Regions from separate parts of the Homo sapiens genome. Here region 2 is linked to region 1. Evidence: promoter capture Hi-C in human tissues and cell types (Jung and others, 2019). All regions are on one chromosome and are shown on one strand. Each heading gives the region's core, a stretch centred on a gene start or on the middle of the fragment in contact. The rest is flanking DNA. Distances are from core to core; before and after follow the strand shown.

Evidence for each region. Contacts are between HindIII fragments. The study calls those that stand out against the background at their distance.
Region 2: a contact is called between a fragment that was not itself captured here and the fragment with the promoter of EFCAB12 in region 1, in 2 of the 25 tissues and cell types used here (mesenchymal stem cells and spleen).

Annotation. Positions count from the first base shown.
Region 1 is chr3:129,427,015-129,430,453 of GRCh38, reverse strand. EFCAB12 (EF-hand calcium binding domain 12) reads left to right here and starts at 1,818. Exons shown (of 9, transcript NM_207307.3): 1 at 1,818-2,014. The coding sequence starts at 1,966. RefSeq lists a silencer at 1,632-1,681. The HindIII fragment of the contact is 10,320 bases long and covers 1-3,439 here.
Region 2 is chr3:129,290,634-129,294,072 of GRCh38, reverse strand. HMCES (5-hydroxymethylcytosine binding, ES cell specific) reads right to left here. Exons shown (of 7, transcript NM_020187.3): 4 at 3,269-3,394. Among named protein-coding and RNA genes, the nearest start is that of HMCES, 13 kb to the right of the region's middle. The HindIII fragment of the contact is 7,582 bases long and covers 1-3,439 here.

The DNA of each region.
Region 1 (3,439 bases), core at 569-3,068:
AATGCCATTTTTATTACAAGTATTGTTACAGTTCAAATACCAAAGCATTTACTATTAGAAAGAAACCAAGGGAAAAAACTAGTTACTATGTCTTAATTACCAACTACCATTTTAAGGTATAATTTGAAAATTAAATTGATTGAATAAATGAAAAATAAATCAGTTGTTCAGGAAACTGCCTTTGTTGTAGGGCAGTGTGAACCGAATCAGGCTGCAGTGTGATGCAGAGGTAGTTGGTTGTTTCCACTTTAGTGAGTGTCAGTTTTTAGAAGGATAGATTTTGACCAGAGAACAGGAAAACTGGCCACACCTCCCTCTCCCCAAGGCAAACCCACTTTATAGTTTACCATCACATTTTCATTTAACAAACATCCAAGTAGCATTCACAAAGTGTAAAGCCCTGTGGTGGGGAGGGGCACAAAGATAAACAAGTTCTGTACAGACCCTCACAGAGAGAAAGAAGGGCACCTAATAATGGAAGGGAACAAAAGCGGTAAGGAGTAGGGACAAGACACCCAAAGAGGGTGGAGAGGGGCCTCTGAAACCTTGGGCCCAGCTGGGCCTGGAGGGTGGGGCGAGCTCACCAAGCTCAGGGCATCAGGTGTGGCTTTGTGGTAGGGCTGGTGGTCACATACCTTCCCCCAGCATCTCCATGGGGAGTGTGGGCCCGTGTGAATGCAGGAGGCGAGCTCTGCACCAGGGGAGCTCAGGACACAGCCAGGTTGCTCAGGCTCTAGGCCTGGCTTTTCCTGTTTCTTGCAGGTGAGGTTGCCTGACCTCTGTACCTGTTAACTTGTCTTTTAAAAATGGGATAGTGGTGTCTACCTCACACAATGATGGTAATTATGAAGTTCAGACATGTAGTGCTAAAATGGTACCTGGCTTGCAAGAGTGCTGTGTGAATGTGGCCCATGGCAACAATCTGTTTGCAAGCGTCACAAAGATAGCTTGTCTCAGCAAAGGAATAAGGGCTTAGGTGTTTCTCTTTAACTTTTTAAAAATTGAGCTAAAAGCCACCATTTAACCATTTTAAAGTGTACAGTTCAGTGGTTTAGTACATTTACAGTGTGCAGCCATCATCACTAATTCCAGAAGTTTCCATTTCTTTTTTCCACTCCAAAAAGAATCTCTCCACCTGTTAGCAGTCACTTCAATTACTCACCCCATCCCCTAGCAACCATTCATCTACTTTCCGTGTCTGTGGGTTCGTCTATGCTGAACATTTCACATAAATGGAATCATACAGCACGTGGCCTTTTGTGTCTAGCTTCTTGCTTAGCATACTGTTTTGAAGGTTTATCCATATTGTAGCATGTACTTCATTCCTTCTTATGGCCATCCTATGGATATACCTCATTTTGCTTATCAGTTGATGCACATTTCAAGGGTTTATTATTATTCTCTGGTCCTCAGGTTCTGTAACTCCAAACCATGGCACCCTGCCATAAGCGGGGCAGAACATACCCAACACCTCTATCTGGCCACAGCTCACTTTGGTTCTTCCTAACCCTCTGGAGGAGGCAGGGCCTATTTTTCCTATGAGAAAACTGAGGCCTAGAGATATGGAGACCTGCGGAAGATCCCACATTTCACGGGAAAACCGGAGACTTTCTACACTGGATTCAGGGACTACTGGGCCGAACAAAGAAATCCCGCCTTTCACCAAGCCCAGAACTGGGCGGGGCGTGGATTTGCTCGCTGCCCCTCCCAGAATTGGACGAAAACGAGGTGGGGCCAGCAGGCGCTCGGCAGGGCGGGCTCGCTCTTAACACGTGACAGCGCTCAGCCAATTGGCGCGGGGCGTCCGTAGCCACGGCAACAGGTTGCTTCTGCAGTCTGAGCTGAGCGCCTTTCGCACGACTTGGAGTTACGGTTTATCTGATACCCCGGTACCCCTACGCAAGCAAGCCCACATCGACACACATTCACACACGCCCTTCAGCACCCCCTCCCAGCACCACGACCATGGACGACGACTATGAAGCGTACCACAGTCTGTTCTTGTCGCTGCTCGGTAAGCCCCGGGAAGAAGCGTCTGCAGGGAGCGCTCAGCGCCCTAAGGACGCGTGAAAGTGGGGTGAGGGCAAAAACTCAGCCACAGATATTGTGCCGACCCCCTCTGGGTGAAGGGTTGCCATGGAGTCGGGGGCAGGTCATGTACATTTCTGAGATTTCTATCTGAGCCTAGTTGGAGGAACCAGAGGCCCGACCCATGTGACGGGAGCCCTCCAGCTCGCCCTGTTTCTCTGCAGGACATTAATGTATTCAGTACTGGAGGAGAGGCATGGAGAAGACGTCAGTCTTCAAGGTTTTGGCAGTAATGTGCTGGGGACCAAGTTCTTGGCAAAGCAATGCAGCTTCACGGGTAAAGGACAGAGATAAATGGATAATTACAGAATAAGAAGGGGTAAATGCCGGGCCCAGGGATGACACCCAGGAGTAAAAGGTGTGCTGAGGGTATGGGATGGGGAGGAACAGTTCCAAGCTTTTGGAAAAGATCTTTACACTGGAGCTTAAAGGATAAAAAGGAGTTCTCCAAGCCAAAAGGGGAAGGAAAAGCATTTCGGGCAAGGAAACAGCATGACCCAAGAGGTCTGGTGTCTCTGGAAATGAGGTGAGAGAGGTCAGAAGGGACAAGATCATAAAAGATACTGCAAGCCAGGAGATGGAGAGGCCACTGGGAGTGGCAGGACTGGATTGGGAGCAGTCAGAAAAGACCTGAGACTGAGTTGGCAGACTCAGAATGTTGGTGTGGGGAGATGAGAGCTGGGGGCTATAAAGCTTGAAGACTGAAGGTCTTCTCCATGCCGCTTCTCCAGCACTGAACACATTAATGCCCAGTGGAGAAACAGGGAGAGCTGGAGAGGCTGGCCACCTTTCCCAGGCACACAGGTCAGGGCTCTGGTCAAATGCCCAAGCTAAAGATGCTGGGAGGTGAGGGAGAAGGCCCAGGCTAGAGGGAACTACGGGACTTGGGGGCTGGTTGGTCAGGAAACACAGAAGAGGCAAATAAAGATGGTTCTCAAGTTGGCAGCTGGGGGACCTGGTAGATGGAGATGTCTTCCACAGAGATAAGAGAACGTACTCAGAGGACCCAGTTAGTGGGGGAAGGGGCACAAAGACAAATCCAGTCTTGGTTGGTTGAGTTTAAGATCCTTGTCAGTAGCTGGGCACAGTATCTCACGCCTGTAATCCCAGCACTATGGGAAGCTGAGGCAGGAGGATTGCTTGAGCCCAGGAGTTTGAGAATAGCCTGGGCAACATAGTGAGATCCCATCTCTACAAAATTGTTTTTTAAAGTTAGCCAGGCCTGGTGGGGTGGCTCACGCCTGTAATCCCAGCACTTTAGGAGGCTGAGGTGGGTGGATCACGAGGTCAGGAGATCAAGACCATCCTGGCTAACACAATGAAACCCCGTCTCTACTAAAAATACAAAAAA
Region 2 (3,439 bases), core at 331-2,830, 140 kb after region 1:
GATTATTCCCAAAACAGAAAGATCAGGAGAAAAGGAACAAAGAGTTGATGGAACAAATAGAAAACTAGCAAAACAATGGATTTTAACCCAATCACATCAATAATTACATTAAATTAAATGTTCTAAACACAAATTAAAAGAATGATTGTCAGACTGAATCAAAAAGGAAAATCCAACTATCTGTAGTGTAAAAATTAAGTTCAAGTCCAGGCGCAGTAGCTCATGCCTGTAATCCCAGCACTTAGGGGGTGCTGAGGCAGGCGGATCACCTGAGGTCAGGAGTTAGAGACCAGCCTGGCTAACATGGTGAAACCCTGTCTCTACTAAAAATACAAAAATTAGCCAGACATGGTGGCACGCACCTGTAATCCCGGCTATTCAGGCGGCCGAGGCAGAATTGCTTGAACCCAGGAGGTGGAGGTTGCAGTGAGCTAAGACCACACCATTGCACTCCATCCTGGGCAACAAGAGTGAAACTCTGTCTCAAAAAAAAAAAAAAAAAAAAAAAAAAGAATTAATGTATATTAAGCTAATACACATTAAGTTCCTAGAAAGAGTAACTGACTAGTAGTAAGTGCTTAATATTTGCTATTATAATTGATAGATGTTTTATAAATTAATCTTGTCTTGTACCAAATCATTTGTGTGTTACTAGACTGGCTAGACTGGGAATTTTCTTTTTTAATTTATGTTTTATTTCAATAGGTTTCTGGGGAACAGGTGGTGTCTGGTTACATGAATAAATTCTTTAGTGGTGATTTCTGAGATTTTGGTGCACCCATCACTGATAGGGAATTATCTGAGGGTGAGGCAAACTCTCTTGACTACTGAAACTGCCCCAAAGAGTTAAAAAACAAACAAACAAACAAAAACACCAATGACTAAATTCTTGGGCTTACAGGATAGCACATAAGAAAATAACTTGCTGAAACAGTGAAACTCCCTCCGCTTGTAAGATAACAAAACTGGCTGAATTGGTTGGAACCAATAACTGACTAGAGTATATGCAAAACAAGCTTGCTTATATCACAGCCTGAATTTCCACCACATTTCACACTAACTCCCCCTGAATTTGCACATGAGACCTATATGGAGGCAGGAAGAGATAACTGCACATACCTGAAGACTTTCCAGGCCTCCCCTTTCCTTCCACCAATCACCTACTAATCCCAGAATCCACTCCCTAAACATTTTTTTAATAAAAGTACTCCTTAAAGCCAGCTAGGGAGACAGAGTTGAGCTGGACTCCTGTCTTCTTGTTAGTCGACTTGAAATAAAAAACTTTTCTCGGCCAGGCGCAGTGGCTCACGCCTGTAATCCCAGCACTTTGGGAGGCCGAGGCGGGTGGATCACAAGGTCAGGAGATTGAGACCATTCTGGCTAACACCGCGTCTCTACTAAAAATACAAAAAATTAGCCGGGCCTGGTGGCACACGCCTGTAGTCCCAGCTACTTGGGAGGCTGAGGCAGGAGAATCGCTTGAACCCGAGAGGCAGAGGCTGCAGTGAGCCGAGATCACGCCACTGCACTCCAGCCTGGGCAACAGAGAGAGACTCTGTCTCAAAAAAAAAAAAAGAAGAAAAAAAAAAACTTTTCTCTGTTACCCAGGCTGGAGTGCAGTGGTGCAATCTCGGCTCACTGCACCCTCCACTCCCCACCCCAGGCTCAAGCTATCATTCCACCTCAGCCTGCCAAGTAGCTGGGACCAGCTACTCAGTATCATGGTATTGGCTTCTAGCACATTGGGTAGCAAGTCCCTTTTACTCGGTAACACTATTTCCAGTCCCCAAAATGAGATGACAGGTGAACAAACAATTCCCAATTTTAACAAGCAAACTGCTAAGAACTCAGGTGCTTTAGCAGTGTCAGACTAAATAATCTAATTAAAAATAAAACATGATGTTGGCATGTCAGATTTGTTTTCAATCTCCTGATAATGTTTTAACATGAACAGTTCAAATTATGTCTTACAGTGAAAGGGTTTTTGTTTCATTTTTGAGATGGGGTCTCACTCTGTCACTCAGGCTGGAGTACAGTAGCACGACCTCAGCTCACTGCAACCTCCACCTCCTGGGCTCAAGTCATCTTCCCACCTCAGCCTCCCAAGTAGCTGGGACCACGCCCAGCTAATTTTTTGTATTTTTGGTAGAGATGGGTTTTCGCCATGTTGCCCAGATTGGTCTTGAACTCCTGAGCTCAAGTAATCCACCTGCTCTGGCCTCCCAAAGTGCTGGGATTACAGGCATGAGCAACCGTGCCTGGCCTGAACCACTGCGCCCAGCCACAGTGAAAGTTTTATGAAGGAAATGTTAAACGTAGAGTTGTAATATGACCTAGCAATTCCACTCCTAGGCATCTATCCAAGAGAGATGAAAACAAATCCATGCAAAACTTGTACATGAATGTTCATAGCAGCATTATTCATAATAACCAAGAAGTGGAAACAATCCAAGTGTCTATCAACTGATGAATGAATTAACAAAATGTGGTCTGTTCTTACAAAAAGGAATGAAGTGCTGATCCATGCCAAACATGGATGAATCTTGAAAACATTATGCTAAATCAAAGAAGCCAGTCACAAAAGACCACATATTCTATGATTCTGTTTTTATGAAATGTCCAAAATAGGCAAATCCAGAGATGGAAAGTAGATTCGTGTTTGACAGGGGCTGGGCATAGTGGAGAATAAAGAGTGATTGCTAATGGATATGTAGTTTCCTTCTAGAGTGATAAAAATATTCTAAAAATAGAGGTAATAATTGCATACTTTGAACATACTAAAACATTCCTGAATTGCACATTTTAAAAAGGTGAATTTTAAGGTGAATTATCTCTCAATGAGCTCATTTCATTTCATTTCACTTTATTTTATTTTATTTTGACAGAGTCTTGCTCTGTCGCCCAGTGCAGTGGTGTGATCATAGCTCATTGCAGCCTCTATCTCGTGGGTTCAAGTGATCCTCCCACCTCAGCCTTCCGAGTAGCTGGGACTACAGGCACACACCACCATGCCCAGCTAGTTTTGTATTGTTTGTAGAGACGGGGTTTCACCATGTTGCCCAGGCTGGTCTCAAACTCCTAGGCTCAAGCAATCTTCCCGTCTTGGGCTCCCAAAGTGCTGGGATCACAGGCGTGAGCCACCGCACTGGGCCAAAGCTGTTATTTTAAAATAAATAAATAAAACTATGGGGAAGAAAAAAATGTCCTTTGGATTAATTTGTTTCCCTGTGCCTTTCCAAATATATATTGTGAATGCTGATAATGATACCTTCTCTGTCTTGATTTGAGGAAAATAGATGAAGTATGGCTGCCTCTGGTTTGTTCCCTGACATCGCTGCCACTCATAGAATCCATCTGCTAAAACGACACAGCGTCTTCCCTTTCCCAGAGGCACCTGAGGGAAAATGTGAGCAAGATATGGTCTTAGTGATACAATCAT